Linked DNA regions of Homo sapiens: all the other regions are linked to region 2. Evidence: promoter capture Hi-C in 16 types of primary human blood cells and fetal thymus (Javierre and others, 2016). All regions are on one chromosome and are shown on one strand. The core of a region is centred on a gene start or on the middle of the fragment in contact, and the rest is flanking DNA. Distances in the headings are between cores, read along the strand shown.

Region 1 (3,479 bases), core at 635-3,134, 710 kb after region 2:
TTTTACAAAAAGTAAAATACTGCCTCAAAACGATAACAACTTCATCTTTAGTAAGACTCTCTCATTCCCCTTCCATCTTAACGTTAACTGCATCTGCCTGTGGGTCCCCCGACGTCCAGGGCTCTGTAGCTTCTCTCAGAATAAAGGCTTCTTCCATGGCTGGGGTGAGCAGGGGAGGCTTCCAAGAAAGAACTAACTGGGCCTTTAATAACCTCCCTTCCCTTTGCAGGCTCAATATTAGCCTTAGCTTGGAATCACTGGGCATAAGCTTTAATTTCCATGTCAAGGTTATTCACTTGGGTTTTGAAACTGCTTTAAAAATTCAGCAAAATTATGCACAGTATTTATATATGGGAAGGAAATTATTTTTTCTTTTTTTTTGAGACAGAGTCTCGCTCTGTTGCCCAGCCTGGAGTGCAGTGGTACACTCTTGGCTCACTGCAACCTCTGCCTCCCAGATTCAAGTGATTCTCCTGCCTCAGCCTACCGAGTAGCTAAGACTACAGGTGCCTGTCACCCACACCTGGCTAATTTTTCAGTAGAGACGGGGCTTCACCATGTTGGCCAGGCTGGTCTTGAACTCTTGACCTCAGGTGATCCGCCTGCCTCAGCCTCCCAAAGTGCTGGGATTACAGGCGTGAGCCACTGCACCCAACCAAGGGAAGGAAATTTTAAGGTGCTTACATTTCATACCTCAGTAAGAAATGCAAAGTATTTATTTCTTTCAGACGATAAATGTATTATTCTATTATTTTCATTAAAAATTAGGTAGTAATCAATTAGTCATATGGGATTAGTAATCAAGAAGTCATACTTCTAGGAGGTACCAACTTTCATCTCATAAAATTTAGCATTAACCAGCTGGGTGCAGTGGCTCATGCCTGTAATCCCTTGGGAGACCAAGGCAGGCAGATCACTTGAGGTCAGGAGTTCAAGGCCAGCCTGCCCAACATGGTGAAACCCCGTGTCTAATAAAACTACAAAAATTACCTGGGCATGGTGGTGCATGCCTGTAATCCCAGCTACTTGCGAGGTTGAGGCAGGAGAATTGCTTGAGCCCGGAAGGCGGAGGTTTCAGTGAGCCGAGATCGCACCACTGCCCTTCAGCCTGAGCAACAGAGCGAGACTCCATCTCAAAAAAAAAAAAAAAAAAAAAAAAAAAAAAAAAAAATTAGCGTTATCCTCACAAATCAAGATGATAGGATATAGAACAGAGGTATTTACTGTAACAAAAGTACCCTGCAAAAAGAGGAACTGATGCTTTCATAAATCTATGTAACTCATCAATTATCTACCACATTTTCTTGTAAAAATGTATTCATTTTCTACAGTCAAAATGGAAGAGAGGTTTTTTTCCTTTTTGTTTCCCTGCTAGCACTCTAAAAACTAAGCCTTGGAATACCGTTGGACATCACCCAGCCATAAAAAACACACCTGAGTAAATTCCTAAACTAAGTCTGGGAAAGAAAAAGGTAAATGAGAATTCTTAATAAATGGAATATATGATTAGATATTATTTTTCTCTGAAACTCACCTCTTTTATGCTCTGTAAATATTTTCTTAACTTTTAAATCATACTAATAAAATGCAAGTTACAGTTATAAAACTGAAATCAAAATAAGTGAACAAATCTTTTCAAGGTGACAAACCCAGGGAGTGGCGGGGCTGATTAGAAAACAGATGTGTCTGATGAGTTCATGGCCTTTGCAGGGACATGGATAAAGCTGGAAACCATCGTTCTCAGCAAGGACAAAAAACCAAACACCGCATGTTCTCACTTATAGGTGGGAATTGAACAATGAGAACACATGGACACAGGAAGGGGAACATCACACACTGGGGCCTGCTGTGGGGTGGGGGGAGGGGGGAGGGATAGCATTAGGAGATATACCTAATGCTAAATGACGAGTTACTGGGTGCAGCACACCAACAGGGCACATGTGTACATATGTAACAAACCTGCACGTTATGCACATGTACCCTAAAACTTAAAGTATAATAATAATAAAAAAAAAGAAAACAGATGTGTCTGACTCATGTGTCAAGTCAGGCCACCCAAACACTAGATTCTCCTACCCCATCCTGCTCATTTAAGTGCCCAATGACCACCCTCTCTGTAGACACTGCCCTATGCCTCAGTGACTACTCCAAGTGCATTTCATTTTGCAAGTTCTTGTACCATCTCACTGGGGTCAAGTTTGATTTTTTTTTTTTTTTGTCTTCTGGAATACTATTTTTTCTTTCACAAATCTTAGAGAATCCAGGGGGCAGAAATTATTTCTGAGTTTTCCTCTCAATACCAGCATCTGATTGGCTGACCAGCAATGTACCTCTGAGAAATGGAAGTCGGGTTGAGTGAACACAATCTTAATGCCTCAAAGGGTTAGCTTTCCAAAGGAAGGGTATACCAGGAGATTCCTCTCAGCCCCAGGGCATCCACCTGCTCCCTTGAGAGGCTACACTCCAACCTCAGATTGTCCTCTGTCTCCCATTCCCAGATACCCAGAGTTCCATTCCAGGCCAGGAGCTGAAATTTACTAGAGATTCTAGCATACACAGCCACAGTTGATATCTTGATTTATCCCCAGACAGTACTGAAACCCAGGACCAGGAGAAAACCGAAAGGTGGCTGAGGACACATCACCCTGTAAAGTTTCCAAAGGGAAACCTTGACCCAAAAACATTCTGATAAGATCTCTGCGCCTAGGGAAGATAAAAGGAAAATAGGCACAGACTTTTTTTTACAATACAGTGTCAGGGGATTATTTTTTGTTTTCTTCTCATTGGAAATATTTTCAAACAGCAAACAATTTGTTTAAAGTGCCACCCAATAATTTGTCAACAATGATTAATTAAAATACAGTATCTAAAATGTACACTAAAGGACAAATAGTTGATAATGTGAATTAGGGAGGGGAAGCTGGGATTTGGGAATGTCAAAGGAAACTGGAAATTTAGCATTTTACTGAAAGTCAGTTAGGCTAAAAGAATGGGGAATAGGGAGTAGTCTTGAGACCCTGCTTGAGACACGTGAAAGTTGCAGGGGAAAATCTGTCCCCTGTGGAGTGTGAAAATAACTAAATGGCAGGCAATTAGACTGAGGTGGCTCTAGTCCCAGGGTTTTTACTTTTTAAAAAATCTAACTCAAATGCTTTTTTTTTGTAAATTACTACATTGGGGAAAACAAAATTTAGACTTAATCAACCATGAACTGCCAATTAAGCTCTGATTACGTGACCAGAAAATTTCCACCTTCATCTAAAACTAAGAAACTACGTAACTCTACCTAACCAATTATTGAGTTTGCTTTCCTTTATCATGCACCTTCTAAAAGTCTTTTCTTCAAGCCCCTCCCATGGAAAATAAACTACAAACCACAGCTGGGTGCTCTATAATTCTTCAATTACTCTTTGATTAAATTCTTTAACATTTTTGTGGTGACTTCCATAGATTTTTAAGAGAAAAAAGATGGACTAGGA
Region 2 (3,532 bases), core at 547-3,046:
GTCTCGATCTCCAGGTCAGGTTTTGTTGTATCTTTTGGAATACTTTTTTTTTTTCCACAAATCTTAGAGAATCCTGGGGACAGAAATAATTTTGGTGTTTTCCTCCCAGTACCAGCATCTGATTGGCTGACCAGCAATGTTTCTCCAAGAAATGAAAGCTGGGTTGAGTGAAGACAATCTTAATATCTCAAGGGGTAAGCTTTTCAAAGGAAGAGTAGCCCAGGAGATGCTTCTCAGCCCCAGGGCATCCACCTGCTCCCTTGAGAAGCTACATTCCATACTTCAGGTTATTCTACGAGAGAAAATGACCCAGGAGCTGATATTTACTAGACACTCTAGCGACATTGCCATGGTAGGTATCTTGCCCCAGACAGTACTAAAACCCAGGACCAGAAAAAGAACTGAAGGGTGGCTGAGAACACATCACCCCATAAAGTTTCCAAAGGGAAAGCAACCATGACCCAAAAACATTCTGATAAGATCTCTGTGCCTAAGGAAGATAAAAAGAAAAGAGGCACAGAGATTTACAATACAATGTTAGGGGATTATTCTTTGCTTTCTTCTCATAGGAAATATTTACAAACAGGAAACAAATCTTTTAAAACGTGCCATCCAATGCTTTGCCAAAAATGATTAATTAAAATATGCCATCGAAAATGTACACTAAAGGAAACACACTTGCTAATGCGAATTAGGGAGGGTAAGTTGGCATTTGGGAATGTCAGAAGGAACTGGAAATTTAGTATTTTACTGCAAGCCAGAATTAAGCTGGAGGAATGAGGGATGGGGGGTAGACTTGAGACCCTGCTTGGGACACATGTGAAAACTGCAGGGGAAAATCAGTCCCCTGTGGATGTGAAAATAATTAAGTGGCAGGCAATTAGATTGAGGTGGCTCTAGTCCCTGGGTTCCTACTTTAAAAAAAATATAATTCAAATGCATTTTTGGCGGGGGGAGGGGAGGGTAAATAACACCGAGGGAACAAAATTCAGGCTTAACCAACTATAAACTGACAATCTCTGATTACATGACCAGGAAATTTCTACCTTAATCATACAAATTAAAAAACGACGTAACTGTACCTAACCAATTATTAAACTTGTTTTTTTTCATTATGCATCTTATAAAAGTGTTTCCTTCAAGCCCCTCCCACGGACCACAAACTACAAATCATAGCTGGGTGCTCTAAAATTCCTGAATCGCTCTTTGATTAAATTCTTCAATATTTTTACCTTGACTCCCATAAATTTTTAATAGGAAAAAAGAGGACCTGAGAACCACACGGACCAAAGCTCTTCCCATTCATAAACCCCGCACCCCGAGTCAGGATTCTTCTCTTTACTATTCTCCCGTCGTCCCTGCACACTCGGCGAGAGATGCGACGCTGCGGGTGCAGAGCTGCCCAGGGAGGGCTCCAGGCCAAAGCACAGTCACTGCGCAGGGAGGAGACAGGACGCCCGGGGTCCCGGCTGTCAGCCCAGCCGCCATCTTATGGCTGAAGGAGACTGAGGGCCGAGCTGCGCCAAGGAGAACTCGGGCCGCGGATCTCGGAGCCGACTGCGGGAAGGCCCGAGGCCCGCCACAGCCACTTCCAATCGGTTCCAGCCAGACCCTCCCCCTCTCTCGGGATGTGGGACCCAGCAGGCTCACCATTTCTAGGCTTCCAGGGGGTCCTGGCGTCTTAGCTGTGAACCTCCAAGTTCTTGCAGGTAACAGGGTCACAGCGGCGAGCCTTTATCAGCACAGGACGCAGAGCAGTGAAGACTAGACGTGGAGCGCCGGCTGCAGCGAGAGACAAAGGCCCCGCCAAATCCCGGAAGCTGTGCTGTCCGCTCCAGTTGCGTGCCTGATTGGATGGTTCCCAGCCCAGCGTTCCTGATTGGATAACGTTTAAGGCCCCGCCCCTTCGGGCCCTGAGTGACGGGAGATGTGATCAGATGCTGGACTGAAGGAAGAGTGACAGCCTAAGCTGCAGCCTTTTCAGACGGGGCTTCCTCCCTGAGCTGAGTCAGGCCCACCCCAGACAGTATTTGCATTTAACCTTGTGAATAAGGCCATATGCATTTATAAATAGTATATTATATGTCTATTCACAAATGCAAAGAATATAATACCAATTATTCAAAATTTTCAGATTTTATGACCTTCCTGGCTTCTGGTTTTGTTGTTTTGTTTTGTTTTTGGTTTTTGTTTTTTGAGACAGAGTCTAGCTCTGTCGCCAGGCTGGAGTGCAGTGGCACGAGCTCAACTCGCTGCAACCTCCGCCTCCCAGGTTCAAGCGATTCTCCTGTCTCAGCCTCCCGAGGAACTGGGACTACAGGCGCACGCCACCACACCCAGCTAATTTTTGTATTTTTAGTAGAGACGGGGTTTCACCATGTTGGCCAGGATGGTCTTGATCTCTTGATCTTGTGATCCGCCCGCCTCGGTCTCCCAAAGTGCTGGGATTACAGGTGTGAGCCACAGAGCCCGGCCAACTTCTGTTTTTTTAAGCAGGCAGCCTGAAATTTTAAAAAGAAGGCAATCCTCTAAAATAAAATGTGGGCGACACGTGAATTGTACATTTTTTAGCAGCCAAACTTTAAAAAGAAACAAGAAACAGGTGAAATTGATTGTAACAATTTAACCCAATATATCTAAAACCTTATTCTAATATGTGAGTGATATGTAATTATTAATAAAGTATATATATTTATTTGGAACTGAATCTTTGAAATTAACTCTATTTTACCTTTCTAGCACATTGCAATTCAGACCAGCCACATTCCAGGCAGCCAGTAGCTACACATGGCCAATAGCTGCCACATTGAAATGCAGCCCTGACATCAGGAGGGTGAAGGGTCTGAACACCCCTTTTCTGCCAGAAGTGAGGGGACAGCCTCTCTTTACCAACATCTTTCTACAGTTTTGAGGGTGGAACAAGATAGTCACCATAGAAAGAGCAGAGGGCAGCAAGAATAAAATAACCACAGGTACACCACTGCTGGCCACCTGTTGCCCACCTTTCTTCCAGAGATCAGACAGTAACCAAAAGATGATGGGGCCACAGGAGATTAAACGCTATGTCTTCAGATCTCTCCACAGTCATCACTTCCAGTGTTTAAGTATAGAGAAAACAGATTAAAGGTAAACTTATTTTGCTATTTGGCCTGGCCCTAGTGGCCAGAGTGTGTTTATCTGTTTTCTCCTGTGGCGTGGGGATTGTGTGAGTACAAGTACCAATCCCATGCAAACATGCCTACATATTTTTCTGCATTACTCAATATTATCTTACAAAACATCCAACTTTAGAGCAGAAAAAAAAATCAGCACTTTTAGGGTGCCAACTGTTGGAAGGTAACTATAACAACCAGTAATCAACCTGTCATTAAATCCTGGCATCCTATCTGCACTGTGTGCACGTATTAGTTAGGTATTGCAGCATAACAAACCAACCAAGGCTTTTTTTTTTTTTTAAATACAGAGTTTCGCTCTTGTTGCCCAAACTAGAGTGCAATGGCACGATCTCAGCTCACCGCAACCTCCGCCTCCT
Region 3 (3,814 bases), core at 228-2,727, 520 kb after region 2:
ACCCTGCGGCCTTCCGCAGTGTTTGTGTCCCTGATTACTTGAGATTAGGGATTGGTGATGACTCTTAACGAGCATGGTGCCTTCAAGCATCTGTTTAACAAAGCACATCTTGCACCGCCCTTAATCCATTTAACCCTGAGTGGACACAGCACATGTTTCAGAGAGCACAGGGTTGGGGGTAAGGTCACAGATCAACAGGATCCCAAGGCAGAAGAATTTTTCTTAGTGCAGAACAAAATGAAAAGTCTCCCATGTCTACTTCTTTCTACACAGACACAGCAACCATCCGATTTCTCAATCTTTTCCCCACCTTTCCCCCTTTTCTATTCCACAAAACCGCCATTGTCATCATGGCCCGTTCTCAATGAGCTGTTGGGCACACCTCCCAGACGGGGTGGTGGCTGGGCAGAGGGGCTCCTCACTTCCCAGTAGGGGCGGCCGGGCAGAGGCGCCCCTCACCTCCCGGACGGGGCAGCTGGCCGGGCGGGGGGGCTGACCCCCCCCCACCTCCCTCCCAGACGGGGCAGCTGGCCGGGCAGAGGGGCTCCTCACTTCCCAGTAGGGGCGGCCGGGCAGAGGTGCCCCTCACCTCCCGGACGGGCAGCTGGCCGGGCAGGGGGCTGACCCCCCCACCTCCCTCCCAGACTGGGCGGCTGGCCGGGCAAAGGGGCTCCTCACTTCCCAGTAGGGGCGGCCGGGCAGAGGCGCCCCTCACCTCCCAGACGGGGCAGCTGGCCGGGCGGAGGGCTGACCCCCCCACCTCCCTCCCGGACAGGGCGGCTGGCTGGGCGGGGGGCTGACCCCCCCACCTCCCTCCCGGACGGGGCGGCTGGCCGGGCAGAGGGGCTCCTCACTTCCCAGTAGGGGCGGCCGGGCAGAGGCGCCCCTCACCTCCCAGACGGGGCGGCTGGCCGGGCGGAGGGCTGACCCCCCCACCTCCCTCCGGACGGGGCAGCTGGCCAGGCTGAGGGGCTCCTCACTTCCCAGTAGGGGTGGCCGGGCAGAGGCGCCCCTCACCTCCCGGACGGGGCGGCTGGCCGGGCGGGGGGCTGACCCCCGACCTCCCTCCCGGATGGGGCGGCTGGCCGGGCAGGGGCTGACCCCCCCACCTCCCTCCCGGACGGGGTGGCTGCCGGGCAGAGACGCTCCTCACTTCCCAGATGGGGTGGCTGCCGGGCGGAGAGGCTCCTCACTTCTCAGACGGGGCAGCTGCCGGGCGGAGGGGCTCCTCACTTCTCAGACGGGGTGGTTGCCAGGCAGAGGGTCTCCTCACTTCTCAGACGGGGCGGCCGGGCAGAGACGCTCCTCACCTCCCAGACGGGGTCTCGGCCGGGCAGAGGCACTCCTCACATCCCAGATGGGGCGGCGGGGCAGAGGCGCTCCCCACATCTCAGACGATGGGCGGCCGGGCAGAGACGCTCCTCACTTCCTAGATGTGATGGCGGCTGGGAAGAGGCGCTCCTCACTTCCTAGATGGGATGGCGGCCGGGCGCAGACGCTCCTCACTTTCCAGACTGGGCAGCCAGGCAGAGAGGCTCCTCACATCCCAGACGATGGGCAGCCAGGCAGAGACGCTCCTCACTTCCCAGATGGGGTGGCGGCCGGGCAGAGGCTGCAATCTCGGCACTTTGGGAGGCCAAGGCAGGCGGCTGGGAGGTGTAGGTTGTAGCGAGCCGAGATCACGCCACTGCACTCCAGTCTGGGCACCATTGAGCACTGAGTGAACGAGACTCCGTCTGCAATCCTGGCACCTCGGGAGGCCAAGGCTGGCGGATCACTCGCGGTTAGGGGCTGGAGACCGGCCCGGCCAACACAGCGAAACCCCGTCTCCACCAAGACCAGTCAGGTGTGGCGGCGCGTGCCTGCAATCGCAGGCACTCGGCAGGCTGAGGCAGGAGAATCAGGCAGGGAGGTTGCAGTGAGCCGAGATGGCAGCAGTACAGTCCAGCTTCGGCTCCGCATGAGAGGGAGACCGTGGGGAGAGTGAGAGGGAGAGGGAGAGGGAGAGGGAGACGGAGAGGGAGAGGGAGACGGAGAGGGAGAGGGAGAGGGAGAGGCCCCCTTACATTTTTGCACGCAAGATAAAATAAAATTCTTAACTAAGAAGACTTTATCTCATTCATGTATGTATTATGAAATTTTGTTGACATTTAAGCGTCTCTGACTTACCAGGAATATTGAAATTTTCCATGAATTCAATTGAGCACTGTAAATAAACAATTGTTTACTAATAGCCTTTGGGAGGCAGAGTAAGATTTACAGAATTTCTTTATAATATGTTCCTAGTAATCCCTCTGAACACAGCATTCTCAATTCTTAGTATTCACCCTGAGTCACTCAGGGGAAATTGGTATCTCTGTAAACAGGCAAATGAAGGTGCTGGGTGGAGGTGCATGACATTGTACAGAAATGATGTCCACACGCACCTATAAGGGCCTTAATTTAATGGACTGTTAGTTACATGGCTACATACTTACTGAATCTAGTCATACTATCTTTTGTCAGCTAATGACATTTGTTACCTATTAATTCAATATAATTATTTGCTTGGCTGAAAAATAAATCCTTTAATTTATTCTAAATTGAGAGATTAGATTTGCAATCTTCAATCTTTTAATGTTAAATCAGAGAAAAGCAATGTATGTATATAGTATGCATTTTCCTACCCATGAAAATTATTTGTATTGCCTTGAAAACCCTAGGAAGCCACCTAAAGAATACTCTCTTCAAATCCTTTAGCCAGGATTTTAGATTTCAAAAATAAAAACCTTAACGATAGACCGAAGTCTAAATCTTCTCTTTGCTTCTTGTCAGTAATCTGGCCATTTCAAAAAGCATGTCAATTATGCCAAGCCATTGAAAAGATGTGGTTTTGACTAGTTTTATCCCATTTCAAATGTTTTTTTCTAATTGTTACTTTTGTCATGTTAATCTAAGAGCAAATATCTACATAAATGTTCATGCATTCAAGCAATATTTATATTATGACTAGGTGTGATGGCTCACGCCTATAATCCCAGCACTTTTGGAGGCCGAGGTGGGCCGATCACTTGAGGTCAGGAGTTCAAGACTAGCCTGGCAAAGTTGGTGAAACCTCATCTCTACTAAAAATACAAAAGTTAGCCAGGTGTGGTAGTGTGTGCCTGTAGTTTCAGCTGCTTCGCAGGCTGAGGCAGGACAATCAGTCGAACCTGGGAGATGGAGGTTGCAGTGAGCTGAGATCACGTCACTGCACTTCAGCCAGAGCAATGAAGTGAGACTCTGTCTCCAAAAAAAAGAAGTACATATGTATGTGTGTGTGTGTTTAAAGTTCAATATTTTATTACAGTATAGTAGAATCCTCTAAAAATATTAAGTTTTCTGGCTTATTTATTCCTTGTGTACCATTTTATACATTCACAAAAACATTAAACAATGAAAATGTAACCAATTATTCAATTTTTGTTAATTTTTATTAAAAGTGAGTGTGAAAATAATTATTTTTTTTTTTCTGGTTAAAGAGGTTTTTGTTTTGTTTTGTTTTTTTGAGACAGAGCCTTGCTGTTACCCAGGCTGGAGTGCAGTGACTCGATCTCGGCTCACTGCAACCTCCACCTCCTGGGTTCAAACGATTAAAGATGGTTTTTATTGTTATACTAAGGAGTGTTATCTCTGGAGACACATTTGCCTGTGTTTTAATATTGGCTGTGTTTCTTTCTCTGCAAACTGAGGATAATAACACCTATGTTATTCAGTTACTGTGAGAATTAAATTTATTAACACATTAAAGTATTATGGTTAATGCTCAGTACAAATTAACGATTAATATGATATG
Region 4 (3,476 bases), core at 616-3,115, 810 kb after region 2:
TCAACTTTTCAAAATCAGGAAATGTAACATTAAAAAATGAGGTGAATCTTAATAACATAAATAAAGTATACAATCACAAAAAACAGATACTGTCCGAATCCACTTACATGAGATAGCTAGAAACAGAAACCAAAATGATATTTTGAAAAAGATAAATAATAGGAAATTGGGCAGTTGTTTCAGGGGTATTGAGTTTTGTTTAGAAGATAAAAATGTTTTCCGAGCGTGGTGGCTCATGCCTGTAATCCCAGCACTTTGGGAGGCCAAGGTGGGCAGATCACCTGAGGTTGGGAGTTTGAGACAACCCTGACCAACATGGAGAAACCCCATCTCTACTAAAAATACAAAATTAGCCAGGTTTGGTGGCACATGCCTGTAATCCCAGCTATTCGGGAGGCTGAGGCACTAGAATCACTTGAACCCGGGAGGTAGAGGTTGCAGTGAGTTGAGATCACGCCATTGCACTCCAGCCTGGGTGACAAGAGCAAAACTCTGTCTCAAAAAAGAAAAAAAGAAAAAGAAAGACCAGGGAGGGATCTGTAGACATAGAGCATTCTTCTTCTGTGGCCCCATCGTCCTTTGTTCACTGTCTGATCTCTGGAAGAAAGGTGGGCAACAGGTGGTCTTCCTGTTGTTATTTTATTCCTGCTGTCCTCTGCTCTTTCTATGGCCACTATCTGTTCTACCCTTGGAACTGAAGAGAGATGTTGGTAGGGAAAGACTTTCCCCTTATTTATGGCAGGAAAAGGATGTTCAAGCCCAGTGTGGTGGCTCATGGCTGTAATCCCAGCACTTTGGGAGGATGAGACAGAAGGATTACTTAAGGTCAGGGGTTTGAGTCCAGCCTGGCTGACATGGCAAAATTCCATTTCTACTAAAAATACAAAAATAAGCCAGGCATGGTGGCACATGCCTGTAATCACAGCTACTCTGGGGAAAATAAGGCAGGAGAATTGCTTGAATCCGGAATGTGGAGATTGCAGTGAGCCGAGATTGCACCACTGCACTCCAGCCTGGACATAAGAGCAAGACTCTGTTTGAAAAGAAAAGAAGAGAAGAGAAAGGAAAAGAAAGAAAAGAAGAGAAGAGAAAGGAAATAAAAAGAAAGGAAGAAAAGAAAAGAAAAAAGAAAAGGGATGTTCAGGATTTCATCTTCTGCCATCAGAGCTGCACTTCAATGTGGCAGCTATTGGCCACCTGTGGCTACTGGGTGCATGGAATGTGGCTGGTCTGAACTGCGATGTGGTAGAAAGGTAAAATACATAGTTTTAATTTTTTTTCCAAAATATATATACTTTGTTAATAATTACATACTGGTCACATATTAAAATGATAATATTTTGGATATATTGGGTTAATTAAATTTCTACAATGAATTCCTCCTGTTTTTTTTTCTTTTTAAAATTTTCCTTCTAGAAAATTTAGAATTCACGTGGCTCACATTCAATTTCAGAGGACTGCCTTTTTAAAAAAAAATGTCAGGCTACCCGCTCAAAGGACAAGAAGCCAGGAGCTCATAAAATTGGAAAATTTTAAATAATTGTTATTGCATTATTTTCATGTGTGAATAGCCACATAATATATTATTTATAAAGGCATACGACCTTATACGCAGGGTTATATGCAAATACTCTCTGGTGTGAGCCTGGTCCGTTCAGGGAGGAAGCCCTTCCCTGAGAACCCTGCAGCTTGGATTTCACTCTTTCTACGTTCAGCCCAGCCGCTGAGCACATATTCTGTCACTCAGGGCATTAGGGGGTGGCGCCCTAAACATTATCCAATCAGGGACGCGGGGCTGGGACCCGTCCAATCAGGCACGCAGCTGGAGCGGACAGGACGGCTTCCGGGATTTGGCGGGGCCTTTGTCTCTAGCTGCTGCGGGAGCTCCAGGTCTAGTCTTTACTGCTCTGTGTATTCTGCTCCTAGAGGCCCAGCCTCTGTGACTCCGTTATCTGCAGGTATTGGGAGATGCACAGCTAAGATGCCAGGACCACCTGGAAGCCTAGAAATGGTGAGAGTGCGGTCCGACACCCCGAGAGAGGGGGAGGGGCTGGTTGGAACCGGTCGGAAGTGGCTGTGGCAGGACTCCAGGCTCCAAGCACTGGGCTCCAAAATCCGCGGCCCGAGTTGTCCTTGGCGCAGCTCGGTCCTCAGTCCCCTTCAGCCATAAGATGGCGGCTGGGCTGACAGCCGGACCCCGGGCGTCATGTCTCCTCCCTGCGCAGTGACTGTGCCTTGGCCTGGAGCCCTCGCTGGGCAGCTCTGCACCCGCAGTGCCGCATCTCTGCCGATAACTCGGGGTGCAGGGTTCATAAATGGGAAGCGCTTTGGTCCATGGGGTCCCAGTCCCTCCTTTTTTCTATTAAAAATTCATGGAAGTCACTGCAAATATATTTAAAAATGTAATAGAAGAGTGGTTCAAAAATCGTAGAGCACCCAGCTATGATTTGTAATTTGTGGTCCATGGGAGGGGCTTGAAGGAAAGACTTTTAAGTGGTGTATGATGAATAAAACCAAATTCAATAATCGGTTAGGTACAGTTACATAACTTCTTAATTTGTAAGATCAAAGTGGAAATTTTCTGGTTATGTAATCGGAGGGTACTTGGCAGTTTATAGTTGGTTAAGCAAGAATTTTATTTCCCCCAATGTAATACTTTACAAAAAACAATGTATTTGAGTTAGATTTTTTTTTTTTTTTTTTTGAAACGGAGTCTCGCTCTGTCGCCCAGGCTGAAGTGCAGTGGCACGATCTCGGCTCACTACAACCTCTGCCTCCCGGGTTCAAGTGATTCTCCTGTCTCAGCCTCCCGAGTAGCTGGGATTACAGGCGCCCGCCACCATGCCCGGCTAATTTTTGTATTTTTAGTAGAGACGGGTTTCACCATGTTGGACAGGCTGGTCTTGAACTCCTGACCTTGTGATCTGCCCGCCTCGGCCTCTCAAAGTGCTGGGATTACAGGCGTGAGCCACTGTGCCTAATGTAAATTTTTTTTTTTTTTGAGACGGAGTCTTGCTCTGTCGCCCAGGCTGGAGTGCAGTGGCGCGATCTCGGCTCACTGCAAGCTCCGCCTCCTGGGTTGACGCCATTCTCCTGCCTCAGCCTCCTGAGTAGCTGGGACTACAGGCGCCCGCCACCACGCCTGGCTAATTTTTTTGTATTTTTAGTAGGGACAGGGTTTCACCAAGTTAGCCAGGATGGTCTTGATCTCCTGACCTCGTAATCCACCCGCCTCGGCCTCCCAAAGTGCTGGGATTACAGGCGTCAGCCACCGCGCCCGGCCCTAGTGTACATTTTTGATACTATATTTTAATTAATCATTTTTTGAGAAATCATTGGATGGTACTTTTTAAAAGATTTGTTTTCCGTTTGTAAAAATTTTCTGTAAGAAGAAAGCAAAGAGTAATCCCTGGACACTATTGTAAAAAATCTCTGCGCCTCTTTTCCTTTTATCTTCCATAGGCACAGAGATCTTA
Region 5 (3,346 bases), core at 313-2,812, 610 kb after region 2:
AAATACAAAAAATTAGCCGGGCATGGTGGCACGTGCCTGTAGTCCCAGCTACTCAGGAGGCTGAGGCAGGAGAATTGCTTGAACCCAGGAGGCGGAGGTTGAAGTGAGCCAAGATCGCACCACTGCACTCCATCTCAAAAAAAACCAAAAAGATATGGGCAATAATATTTTTTGCCATTGAATTTCTAGAGTGAAGCACACAAATCAGCTCAAGAAAAGAGAAGCTTTATGCCAAGATAAAACATCTTAAAGATTTGTTTTCTAGACGAGCAAACTTCCAATTCTTGAAGAAAGAAACTAAAATTAATTCATGCAAAGCAGAATCTCCCAAGAAACATTCTACAAAGAGAGAAAATAAAACTCTGAGGATTACTAGGAATTATGTATTAAAGTTATCCTCACCCAGGAAGATCAGGTTTCTGTCATTTTCTAACATCACATCCTTATATACATTTTTAACACAGTAATACTCTCTAAGCCATTCTATAACTCTGAGAAAAAAGGATGACATACCAGCAATTTTTGCTTCTGCAATGGAAATATGGGCCGCACTGACTTGCCCTTACCAAACCCAAGCACAGCAGACCCTGTGACTTTCATTTGGAACAAAAGGTGAACTCAACCTTTTTTAAATAAAGTATCTGGAAGTCCGCACACTTGATCCCGGCCTCACTGTAGAATCATGTGAGGCACTTAATTAAAAAACAGGGATGTTTCCACACAAAACAACAGAAAGATTCTGTGGGGAGGCACAGGGTATGGTATCTCTTCAAACTGGTCAGGTGATCCTATTGGAAGACTGGGCAGAGAATCACTTAGCTAAGCAGTGCCTCTCAAGCTTCAATGTGCATATAAATGTTTTGGTATTTCAGGCCTCACTGTAAGTAAGTAACATAATGCTGCAGGTTTGCAAAAGGTCCATGAATTAGCTTATTTTAACAAGTTCCCTGTTAATGCAGATGCTGCTCCTTCTAACACCATTGTAGTAGCACTCAGCTACAGAAAGCAGGCACAGCACAGAGTCCCTTACTCCAACATCCTTATCACAACACAAATCCTTTTCATCCAAAGAAAGAACCACCAATCGCCAGCCTAAAACATGACATTCTTTGCAGGCCCTTTAAAGATTACAGAGGCTGGAGTCGGGTGGCTCATGCCTGTAATCCCAGCACTTTGGGAGGCCGAGGCTGGCAGATCACCTGAGGTCAGGAGTTCAAGACCAGCCTGACCAACATGGAGAAACCCCATCTCTACTAAAAATATAAAAAATATAAAAATACAACAAATATAAAAAATACAAAGCTGGGTGTGATGGCACATGCCTGTAATTGCAGCTACTTGGGAGGCTGAGGCAAGAGAATCGCTTGAACCCGGGAGGTGGAGGTTTTGGTGAGCCAAGATCACACCATTGCACTCCAGCCTGGGCAACAAGAGCAAAACTCCATCTCAAAAAAAAAAAAAAGATATTACAGAGGCTGGAGATGGTAGCAATGTCTGAGTAAATCTGCATTTGGAAAACAACATGTGCACATACATTAATGCAATGTTTATGCAGAATGTACTATGTGCTCAGGAGTATGTCACAGAGCACTGTGCTGGCCTCATATTATGTAAGTTTTTTTTTTTTTAACACACTGGGACATGGGTACTAAGAGTCCAATAATATTCAGGATTTAAATACAGGGTCTAGCATTTCTATTTCTTCTTCTGTTTCCCTATTACTGATTTTAAAAAGAAAATATATAGAATAATAGCTCAATAATAGTTATAGATAGATGGGAGAGATACAGAAAGGAAGTGTTAAGTGCAGTTCAGAGGGATTTTTAATTTTTGTGTTTGTATTTTATTGAGACTTGTCGAGAAACTACTAAAACCACAGGGATGGGATGTCTCTAGAAGCACCTGCTTTAATTAAAAAAAAAAAAGATTTTAAGGTTCCAAGTATACAGCTTTTTTTTCCCATTTATCTGCTTTTGGATTTCAGAAAATTGTGAGCACCAGCTCTGGAGAGGCAGTAGGAGCAACCACCCCAAACTCTGACCTCCTTTAAGCAGTTCTGTCAGAGATTCCCGTGTAGAGTCAGACTGGGACAAGATTCAGCATAGGGTGAATCTGGGCAGGTTTGGGACAGAGAATGGGCCCTAGGCTTCTAATCTCAATGCTGCTGAGTAGAAGCAATATAAATAATAATAATAACAACTTCTCTTCTGTCCATGAATAGCCCTTCCAGAGGTGGCATAAAAACTCAGGTAACAATAAAAGGAAAATGACCCAAATGAAGCTTAAGTTCCCTGTGCACCTTCCATCCTTGCACTAATCACATGATGTGAAATTCAACCATGTATTTATGTGCTCCAGACTGCAAGTTTCCAGATGGTAGAGGCCATGACAGCTTCATCTGTTTCTCTAATGGCCATATGAAAGAGAAGAAATTCACTGACTGACCAGTTTGAGCATCCAGATCTATTCATTTTTTGCCAAAGAACCAGAGAAACTCCCATCCTAGTACAAACCAAAAAGAATGTTCTATGAAGGGAGAAACAAACCCTGGATGAGTCACTGTTCTTCCTCTGAAATGGGAACAGAATTAGATTTTGTTATAAGCCTGACCCCAGCCTGCACAGGACATCCTCAAATGTCTCAAACCCTCACAAATGAGGGTGAGAGTGTCTTCACTGATCCTAGGCTGATGCCCCCAGAGTGATCCAGGCAGGAGACTCAGGGTGACTTTCTGGGCTACAGATAATAAGTGGAACTGCCCTGGTGGAGCTGCAGACCAGCTGCAGATCCACCAGGTGGATCAGGATGTGATACTCCTTGTCCCTGATCAGCTAACTCTGGGGTAAGAGAAAAGATGAAAATACTCTACTCCAGTAACACAGTTTACAGGGAGGTATAGTAGTGATTATGGCTCTGGATATTTTGTGGCCCTGACCTCCCACTGCTAAGGTGCTTGTTTAACTTACAGATTCTACCACAGGATTCTGTTGACACCAGAAGCCTCTTACACAGCTGTAGCAGGACACTGGGAACAAGATCTGGACATGGCAAAGGGCTCCACTCTAAAAGCAAAGCTTAAGATGTCTATATTCATCGCTCATGGTGCAGAAAATGTCTTCTGTGAGTTTTCTGCATGTCTTCAACCCAAAGTCTGGCCCTGTCTTGTGAATCCAAGGCAGAGACCAGCTTTTATGTGCAGATTTTAGGTGAAATCAAAGTGACTCTCCCTTTTTGGGGTTTACAGCAAGCCAAGTAAAACCAGAGGAGAGATCCTCTCATGGAATTTTTTTCAACACATTGTAAAAAGTATTTTGACCTAAAAGGAAAAAGCTGGGGTAAACATAAT

The links. The method cuts DNA at HindIII sites, captures the fragments that hold promoters and counts their contacts. A CHiCAGO score of 5 or more calls a contact.
Region 1: a contact is called between a fragment that was not itself captured here and the fragment with the promoter of ZNF92 in region 2, in 3 of 17 cell types (total CD4 T cells, neutrophils and M2 macrophages). The highest score is 7.4, in total CD4 T cells.
Region 3: a contact is called between a fragment that was not itself captured here and the fragment with the promoter of ZNF92 in region 2, in 1 of 17 cell types (M2 macrophages). The highest score is 5.4, in M2 macrophages.
Region 4: a contact is called between the fragment with the promoter of ZNF680 here and the fragment with the promoter of ZNF92 in region 2, in 2 of 17 cell types (naive CD8 T cells and non-activated CD4 T cells). The highest score is 6.6, in naive CD8 T cells.
Region 5: a contact is called between a fragment that was not itself captured here and the fragment with the promoter of ZNF92 in region 2, in 1 of 17 cell types (erythroblasts). The highest score is 5.3, in erythroblasts.

Annotation. Positions count from the first base shown.
Region 1 is chr7:64,666,690-64,670,168 of GRCh38, reverse strand. The region is part of intron 1 of ZNF107 (zinc finger protein 107); the gene reads right to left. Among named protein-coding and RNA genes, the nearest start is that of ZNF107, 2.3 kb to the right of the region's middle. The HindIII fragment of the contact is 3,227 bases long and covers 271-3,479 here.
Region 2 is chr7:65,372,119-65,375,650 of GRCh38, reverse strand. It overlaps ZNF92 (zinc finger protein 92), which reads right to left and starts at 1,796. Exons shown (of 4, transcript NM_152626.4): 1 at 1,651-1,796. The coding sequence starts at 1,653. RefSeq lists an enhancer at 1,366-1,765 and a silencer at 1,661-1,931. The HindIII fragment of the contact is 7,156 bases long and covers 202-3,532 here.
Region 3 is chr7:64,853,713-64,857,526 of GRCh38, reverse strand. It overlaps a transcript of ZNF138 not described here. Among named protein-coding and RNA genes, the nearest start is that of ZNF273, 48 kb to the left of the region's middle. RefSeq lists an enhancer at 1,505-2,061. The HindIII fragment of the contact is 5,494 bases long and covers 1-3,814 here.
Region 4 is chr7:64,561,460-64,564,935 of GRCh38, reverse strand. It overlaps ZNF680 (zinc finger protein 680), which reads left to right and starts at 1,865. Exons shown (of 4, transcript NM_178558.5): 1 at 1,865-2,011. The coding sequence starts at 1,982. RefSeq lists a silencer at 1,707-1,816 and an enhancer at 1,917-2,276. The HindIII fragment of the contact is 20,565 bases long and covers 1-3,476 here.
Region 5 is chr7:64,765,267-64,768,612 of GRCh38, reverse strand. No RefSeq gene overlaps it. Among named protein-coding and RNA genes, the nearest start is that of ZNF138, 27 kb to the left of the region's middle. The HindIII fragment of the contact is 1,443 bases long and covers 841-2,283 here.